3 separate regions of the Homo sapiens genome follow, and regions 1 and 2 are each linked to region 3. Evidence: promoter capture Hi-C in 16 types of primary human blood cells and fetal thymus (Javierre and others, 2016). All regions are on one chromosome and are shown on one strand. The core of a region is centred on a gene start or on the middle of the fragment in contact, and the rest is flanking DNA. Distances in the headings are between cores, read along the strand shown.

Region 1 (2,700 bases), core at 19-2,518, 160 kb after region 3:
CAAGTTTTGTGTGGCTTGACTCTTATGCAATTTGGGCTTCTTTCTTTCCTTTCTGTTTTATTTTTTTTAAGAGACATGGTCTCCCTCTGTTGTCCAGGCTGGAGGGCAGTGGTGCAATCACGGCTCACTGCAGCCTTGACCTCCCGGGCTCAAGTGATCCAGCCTCCAAAGTAACTGGGACTACAGGTGCTCACCACCACACCTGGCTAATTAAAAAAAATTTTCTCGTAGAGACAGGGTCTCTGTATGTTGCCCAGGCTGGCCTACAACTCCTGGCCTCAAGTGATCTTCCTGCCTCGGCCTCCCAGAGTGCTGGCGTTATAGGCATGAGCCACCATGCCTGGCAAATTTGGGTCCTTTTTAAAGAAAAGAACACAAAATTGTAAATAATTGATCTAGGGACTTGGAAAGGGCTCATGCAAGTGAAGGATCAGGAGGCTGATTCATTTGCTGCATTAGCATCACAGTAAATAGGCCACTGCCTTAAAGATAGGTTAGGACATTTTTCTATCTAAACCACTTTCCCATTCCTTACAAGGGGACAGTTTGTGACCACATGAATGCTGACGGTACATGGGAGGAGTAAGGGGCCTCAGAAGGGCCTCTGGGCCAGACTCCATGTTTATGGAACCTAAATCAGAGGACTCCACAGCCAAAAAACACACATACACACCCCCTACACAAACAACACTCACCATACACACACACATACCACACAAACAACACTCACCATACACATAAACACACCCACAACACAAACACACACCCCACACACACCCCCACACCACACATACATACCACACAGATTACATACAAACACACACCACATACAACACACATACCACACACACACCACACACAAACACACAACACTCACCATATGCACAAACACACCACACCACACACAAACCACACACCACACACACCCCACATAAACACACAACACACACCACACACACACCACACATACACACACCACACATACAACACACACACCACACACCCCACACACCCCACACATCACACATACACCACACACATACGCATTACACACCCCCACACACACCACACATACAACACACCACACACACACCACATACACACACACACACACCTCATACATGCACCTCACACACATCACACACACCCCCACACACCACACACACCACACACATACACATACACACAACACACACCACATAACACACACACCACAGACAATACACACATACACATACACACCACACGAACATACCACACACATACCACACACACACACAGCACACACACACCACACATACGTATACACATCACACAACCACAAACCACACACACAACACATACACACAACACACGCACACAGAGCTGACCCTGTATATTACCAACCTTCTCTGAAAGCCTGCACGTCTAGAGAGAGGACCAGGAGTCCTGTCCCCCTCCCCCACTGCCACAGCCCCTAGACTGACCCCCGCTGGGGCCACCCCCATATTTATTTCCAGGCAATGAAGCAGGCCTGAAGAAGCCTTTTTTAACGGAGCATGTGAGGTCTTGGAGATAAAACACTCCTCATTTGGGCAGCTTCTGTTTTTGAATTCATGAATATCAATGGAGTCACATTGTCTATGCAAATGGCGTCCTGCTGGGCAGAGGCCAGGCCTAATTAAGACCCTGAATAATGCCCAGCTCTTGTTTCTGGTTTTTTTCCCCACCAGGGATGCAGAATTAATAAGAGCCCAAGCAAACCGTGAATCCTTTTGTTGGCAGAAGGGTCAGTAGCCACAGGGGGTCGGTCCTCAGGAGGGAATCAGGGTGCCCTGGATCCTGCAGAAGTGACAAAGCACGACAGAGGGTGGCTTGGCGGCTGCACCGATTTCAGGGCTGCGGGAAAGGTCCACTGTCCTAATGTGCCCACTCCCATCTGGCTGAAATTTGAAATTTCTTTAACAAGACACAAAGAGGTTCTATCTTAAAATTAGAAAGAATGTCTCAAAGACTCTGGCATGATAGTAATCAGGGTACGCTGGTATTAGAGGGGCCTTGTGTCCAGGGGTGGGGTTCTAGAAGGACACTGTTCTGGCTCAGATTCTGCTCATGAGCAAGCCTCTGTGTCCTCTTCATGAAGTGAAGGGGATTCTCACAGTTTCCAGGAAATGCTCCTAAATGGCACAGGAGGATGCCTGTGTGCCCGTCAAAGGGTCTGGGGGCTTCATCCAAATTAGCTGGCCCGCAGGTGTAATTTCTTTGAAGTGTAATATTTTATAGCTTTTAAATTCTATTGAATGTTGTGTCCTCCTTCCTTTATGACTATATTTGTTTTAATAAAAAATAATGTTTTTCCAAGCACCTTTGGCTCAAGTTAATAACCACGTAAAGCCTTCAGCTTACCTCCTGGGAGAAGGCACAGCCTGGGTGGAGAAGTACAGGGCATTGTTCCGGGAGAACACTCCCAGCTCTCACAGAGGCAAGAGCAAGTGAGCAGGGCAGGACCTGTGCCCCAGCTGGTGTGTGCATGTAACCGCTGGATGGGTTCACCTTGTCCGCTGTACAGACAGAGCTGATTTATCAAGACAGGGAAATTGCAATAAAGAGTTTATTAAATTTTAGACCAATATCCCTTATGAACATCGATGCAAAAATCCTCAATAAAATACTGGCAAACCGAATCCAGCAGCACATCAAAAAGCTTATCCACCATGATCA
Region 2 (2,700 bases), core at 13-2,512, 140 kb after region 3:
TTTCATGCCCTTCCCGCCATCCTCCAATTTTCCTTGTGTTCGGTACAACAGGTTCTGGCAGGCTTAGGAATATTTAGGTGTCCCCACATCACCCATGAAGCCGGCCACTGCATGGTGTTGGAAAGACCCTCTAGGAAATGGCCCAGATGAGGAGGTGGGCTTGGTCGAGACCTGGACCAAGAGTTTGACATTGTGAACCTGAACACGGTCTCAGCTTGGGCAGGAACCAGCAGGCCCAAATGCACTGATGCGGGTTTGCCATCAATACGTACTTGTTACATTTTCTCTCTCTCTCAATTATCCACTTGGCTCCCAGGATACTGTTAGCAGTCTTGGTTACTCTCTGGTTGAAAGATTTGCTACCCAACAGGCCCATTATCACTTCCAGGGTAGAGAATTAGCTTTTAAATATGCATTCTGTCATCCTAGCATCTGCTGGTGCCAAGGAGAGATGAGAAGCACCTTGAATTCATGGATATTTTCACCGTAGTATAATTTGAGGCAGTGGAGCAAAGTCTCAGTATTGGTGATCTTGGTTTGGCTACGGATTACATATGTTTTATACTGATGTACTTTTTTGTGTTACCAACGCTGTGGAGTTATGCTACTTAATTTGTGATAGACTCACACATCTGCAGTAATCTCATTTCCTACCCAATTGTTACGACCACTCGGGACAGGGGCCTCATCCTTGTCTTGTTCTAATGTCTAGGCTGCCGCCCAGTGGCTGCCCTAGCTAATTACACATTAGCATGCTAATTGTTCCTCACTGATATTGATACTGAGGTGATATTTCAAAGGTCTCAGCCCAACCAGTGGGAATTGTTTCCTTATTGCTTCTATTCTCTTTTGCTAATGAGGTTGATATCAGACATCACTCCAATCTACTAGGTTATCTTCAGCAAAGACAAGTGTGATAAAAGGGAAAAGATGAATATTATTCAGCCAATAACCTATTGTTGAGGTGTCTTTTACATTTTGGGGGCTTAGCCGTAGTTTTTTGGATAATCCAGATTTTATTCTACTCCCTAATTCCTAGCTCTGATTTCGACCTGGATGATCTGGTAATCATTTAAAAACATCTTTATTTGGATGAGATCCTATAGAATAGATATCTAAAATCCTCCCACCTCTCATCCCCTTTAGAAAAAATCTCTCAAGTTCTATTTCACTTTAAGCATTACAGGCTGCACCTAAAGAATTTTAAGTAATGGAAGTGAGCATTTTCTATTAGATTGATTTGTAAATTTTCCGACTATTTAGGCAAGCCACCTCTCCCCTCAGAGACTCAATTCTCACTTCCATAATTGGGGATAATAATTAATATTCCTGTCTCTCAGGATTGTTATGAGAATTAAATGGTATGAAATGGGAAAGTCTTTTGTTACACTGACCTTCAAATATCTTGTTTCTAGCTCCAGTATTACTGAAAAAGATCCAAGCTGAGATGTTCCCTGAACACTCTGGAAATGTAAAATTAAGCTGCCAATTTGCAGAAATTCATGAAGATTCTACTATCTGCTGGACAAAAGATTCAAAGTCCATAGCCCAAGTGCAGAGAAGGTGCGATGTTTTTCCCTGGTTACTTTTCACAGTTGTTGCTTGTTTATTTCACAACATGGTTGTAAAAAAGAAAAAAGAATAAATTATAGGACGTGAAAAGGAAAATTGAAGCAGAGATTCCACATCCACAATATTAAAAAAGACTAAATATCGGAAGACAAGTGTCTGGATGGGGAAAATGATGGAGGATTCTTGCCCAGGTTTTGCCAGAATTGAGTTCTGGGGTTTTGGGAAGTCACACAACCTTTCACTACATTTTTTAAATCAGGGGAAGGAACATGTCAAATGATATTCTAGTCTGAGGTTCTGTGGTCCTAAGATTAAAGAGCTCTCATCTGTATGTCTGTGAATTTAACTTGGGTGTGTTTTCTGTTTCATAAATTCCCAGTAATCTGATAAAGGTCAAACAAAGCTAAGGAGATGAATAAAAACAACAACAACAGCAATCTATGAGGTTACAGAAAAGTAACAGCTATTGAGGGTGACCAGCAGCCATCACTAAGATGGGAAAACCTGTTTATTTCTGGGTCCCTATGATTTTTATTTTTATTTTTGAGACAAGGTGCTACTCCCATCTCCCAGGCTGGAGTATAGTGGTGCAATCACGGCTCACTGCAGCCTCCACCTCCTGGGCTTAAGTGATCCTCCCACCTCAGCCTCCCGAGTACCTAGGATTACTGGAGCACACCACCATGCTTGGCTAATTTTCTTTTGTATTTTTAGTAGAGACAGGGTTTTGCCACATTGCCCAGGCTGGTCTTGAACTCCTGGCCTCAAGTGATCCACCTGCCTCAGCCTCCCAAAGTGCTGGGATTACAGGAGTGACCCACTGCGTCCAGCCATGTCCTTAAGATAATAAAGGAGAGAAGAATGAGGAGGCAAGAGATGAGCGTGAGAATCATTGCCAAGAATATCCCCTGTGGAATAAACCTGATTACTGGCTTCCTTAAGCAGCTTTTCTTGGCAATAAATGCTTGTTCAAGTGAACTGATGAATTCAAGCTTCATCTGACACAATCTAGAAACAAATCACCTGGTTCAAAAGTCAACCCTCTGCCAAAGGGTTCCCAGTTTAGCTCCCTAAGAAATGGGAGGGGTTCCAATCCCCTTAATTTTGTCACCAGTAGACTGAAAAAGT
Region 3 (2,907 bases), core at 383-2,882:
GATGTGTACAAATAATTATACTGTAAGACAAATCTTTGTCATTTGAGAAGTTCAAAAAACTGCTAAGGGGTTCAAAGGCAGGCCAAAGTTACAACAATGGTATAAAGTAATGGTTCTAAGTGGGGTCTGGGAACCCCTAGTGCAGTTCCTGAGACCCTTTCGCGGGGTCCACAAGGTCATAAAGATTTTTCATAACAATATTAAGACTTTATTTAGCTTTTTCATTCATTCTTTCAGGAGTGGACACTGCAGTTTCCAGCGTTCTGTGACCTGTAATAGTGCGACAGACTGAATGCAGAAGCACATAAACGAATCCAGCTCTGTGATTAAGCCAAGACATTAAAGAGATCTTCAAAATGAAAACCAATGCCACTTCTCTAATAGACTTTTTTGTTTTGGAAAATTTGTTTTTCCACGAAAGTATTATTTCTGTTACCATATAATGGGTTATTCTTTTTAAATAAATTAATATTTTTTAAATGTCTTAGCTTTAATTTCAAAGGTGGTAAATATCAGTATGTATTACATGTATGTATTATCTCTAACCCACATAAGAGCTCTCTGGGGTCCTCAATAATTCTTAAGAGGGTAAAGGAGTCTCGAGACCAAAACTTCAGGAACCCTAATACAGCCATTCCAAACCTAACAAGGAAAATAGTTTTACTTCGAGTTTCATGTTCATGGTGAAGTCAAGAAGAGAACGTGGTAACCTGGTTTGATGGAGGGAGATGATGAGTTCGGCGTCAGTCTTTCCCAATACCTTGCAAAATGTTCATGAATTCCTGCACCCCACCCTCTGCATTCATCACCTCGCCTGCGCTTCTTCCCAGCCTTCCTTAGGTCTCCCAGAGCAGTGTCCACATCCCTTTCTTTTGCATTTTAAGTCCTCTGGATGACTGCCCCATCCTAGGGGTCCCCTGACAGCTTTCCTTCTCTCACTATCCTCCGGGGTCAACCTCGACTTCTCCCTTTCACCAGGGGCGGGGGTGGGAACAGGGAGCGAGGCAGCCGCTGGGCCACTTTTGCCTCCACCCTCCAGAGCCCTGGGCCCCGCTCTCAAACCCCAGGCGTTCCGGGGAGCTGCTGAGTTCCGCTCCGCCTCAATGACCGAAGTCCTCCCCACCTCCGCTCACTCACGCCGGCGGCCCCCGCCGCGCTCAGCCCCACCGACAGCGCCCCCACCTCCCCACCGCAGCCCACCCCGCTCGACCCGCGCGCCCGGCCTGCCGCGGCCCTGAGCTCACCTGAGGCGGAGGCGCCCGCGACTCCCCGCCAGCTCCGCCAGTCTCCTCCAGCCCCGGCCCTCGGGCGCCTGATCCAGGAGCTCGCTGAGCCTCCGCAGCAGCGGCTCCCGCAGGCGGTTGAGGGTCGCGCCGGCCGGAGGGGCGAGCAGCGGCCCCGTGGGGGCGGCCGAGGGCGGCAGGGCCTGTAGCGGGTCCCCCAACAGCGACATGGCCCTCGCCGGCGACCCCGGACTGCCGGGGCTCCCGCCCGCCCCGTCACGGGCCTCGGCCCCGGGGCACCTTCCGCTCGCCTCCGAGCCGCGGAGGCAGGGGCGGAAGAACAAATCTGGCAGCGCGGCACGGCCCTCAGAGGAGGAAGCTCCGCTCCCCGCCCCAATTAGACAGGTTTGCCGAGGGGAGCCTGGCCTGCTGGCCGCGCCAGCCGCGCAAAGGGGCGGGGCACCCGGGGGGCGGGGCACGGAGCCTCGAGGGGCGGGACCTTGGGCCTCGAGGGGCGGGGCGGGGCTGCCTACTGCGTGCGTGCGGCTGCGCGCCTCCCTCGCCCTCCCCCGCGGTCCCGGGCTGGCCGTGGCGCGCGCTTCAAACCCAGCCCTCCCGAGCAGGAAAGGACGGGTGGGTGCAGCTGGAGGAGGAAGCGGTGGAGGAATTACGCCCCGGCAGCTCCTCTACGGCGGGGAAGCCTGCGGCGTCTGGGCTTCCTGAGACCGTGGGAGGAGGCCTGCGTACTCACGCCAGAGAGCGGGGCAAGCGGTTCTCAGTCGCCGGCTCCCGCCCGCAGTCCCCGGCGAGCGCTCTCCCCTGACTCAGGGACTTTCATGTGCCCGGCGACACACCAGCATCCTGCAGTGGGCAACCTCAGCGGACGCTTCCTCGTTTTAGGGTTAGATGTGTATGGCATTGCTAGAGGGAAGTAGTGCTGGAGATCCGGATACTTGAGTTGGAATTGGCCAAAATCTTTGCCTAGACTTTTAAACAATTACTACTTTGCAAACTGAGCTGTGGCATATTTAGGGCTAATCAGATCTTGGAAATGATTGTTTTTAGCAGGAATCATCTGGTTTACACCGCGTCAGACTGCCGCCCGCAATCTCCGTCATCAAAGCAGGCAACCCTGTAGAGGATGCCTTTCCCTGGAATGATCCGGAATGGACGACACCTGAGCTCTCTCTGCCAATCTTAGCAACATCCAAGGCCATTATCCCTTTGAAAACTATGGCTTCGTTTGGGACAAAAAGGAAGTAACTTACGAAATGTGACCAGTCAGGTAGTTCCCTACACGAGGCTTCCTGGCCCAATTTCTGTTGCCATTAGCTTTTCATCACCCAAGGCCGCAGGATTTTCTGACCAGTAATTTGGATACCTATATTCTTATACATGTTGGCGAGGTAGGTGCGCCATACAGTCTCCACCACATTCTAGCACAAGCAGTCATTAAACTTCACTCTAGCATAAGTTAAGAATTCAGACTGCAGTGAGATGGCTAAGAGCATGAAAGATCTGCTCGATTCAAGTGTTAGGAGCTTGAATAAGTTTCTTAATTTCTCTGCCTCATCTATTAACACAGGACTGACAATACAGTTTATATAGAGTTGTTGCCAGAATTAAAGGAGTTGATGTATGTGAAGCACTTAACTCGGTAACTGGCACATCGTAGATGACTCAG

The links. Contacts are between HindIII fragments. The CHiCAGO score rates a contact against its expected background, and 5 or more counts as called.
Region 1: a fragment that was not itself captured here is called in contact with the fragment with the promoter of MALT1 in region 3 in 4 of 17 cell types (non-activated CD4 T cells, naive CD8 T cells, naive CD4 T cells and 1 more); the score reaches 5.7 in non-activated CD4 T cells.
Region 2: a contact is called between a fragment that was not itself captured here and the fragment with the promoter of MALT1 in region 3, in 12 of 17 cell types (activated CD4 T cells, naive B cells, monocytes and 9 more). The highest score is 23.3, in activated CD4 T cells.

Annotation. Positions count from the first base shown.
Region 1 is chr18:58,511,241-58,513,940 of GRCh38, reverse strand. All of the region lies in intron 10 of ALPK2 (alpha kinase 2), which reads left to right. Among named protein-coding and RNA genes, the nearest start is that of ALPK2-AS1, 44 kb to the left of the region's middle. RefSeq lists enhancers at 899-1,668, 1,669-2,440. The HindIII fragment of the contact is 2,835 bases long and covers 1-2,685 here.
Region 2 is chr18:58,527,954-58,530,653 of GRCh38, reverse strand. ALPK2 (alpha kinase 2) reads left to right here. Exons shown (of 13, transcript NM_052947.4): 6 at 1,416-1,563. Among named protein-coding and RNA genes, the nearest start is that of ALPK2-AS1, 28 kb to the left of the region's middle. The HindIII fragment of the contact is 2,609 bases long and covers 1-2,566 here.
Region 3 is chr18:58,670,190-58,673,096 of GRCh38, reverse strand. It overlaps MALT1 (MALT1 paracaspase), which reads right to left and starts at 1,632. Exons shown (of 17, transcript NM_006785.4): 1 at 1,245-1,632. The coding sequence starts at 1,453. It overlaps MALT1-AS1 (MALT1 antisense RNA 1), which reads left to right and starts at 1,224. Exons shown (of 2, transcript NR_164150.1): 1 at 1,224-1,628; 2 at 2,289-2,907. It overlaps LOC105372146 (a long non-coding RNA gene), which reads left to right. Exons shown (of 4, transcript XR_935537.3): 4 at 238-484. RefSeq lists a silencer at 1,104-1,893 and an enhancer at 2,054-2,313. The HindIII fragment of the contact is 13,202 bases long and covers 1-2,907 here.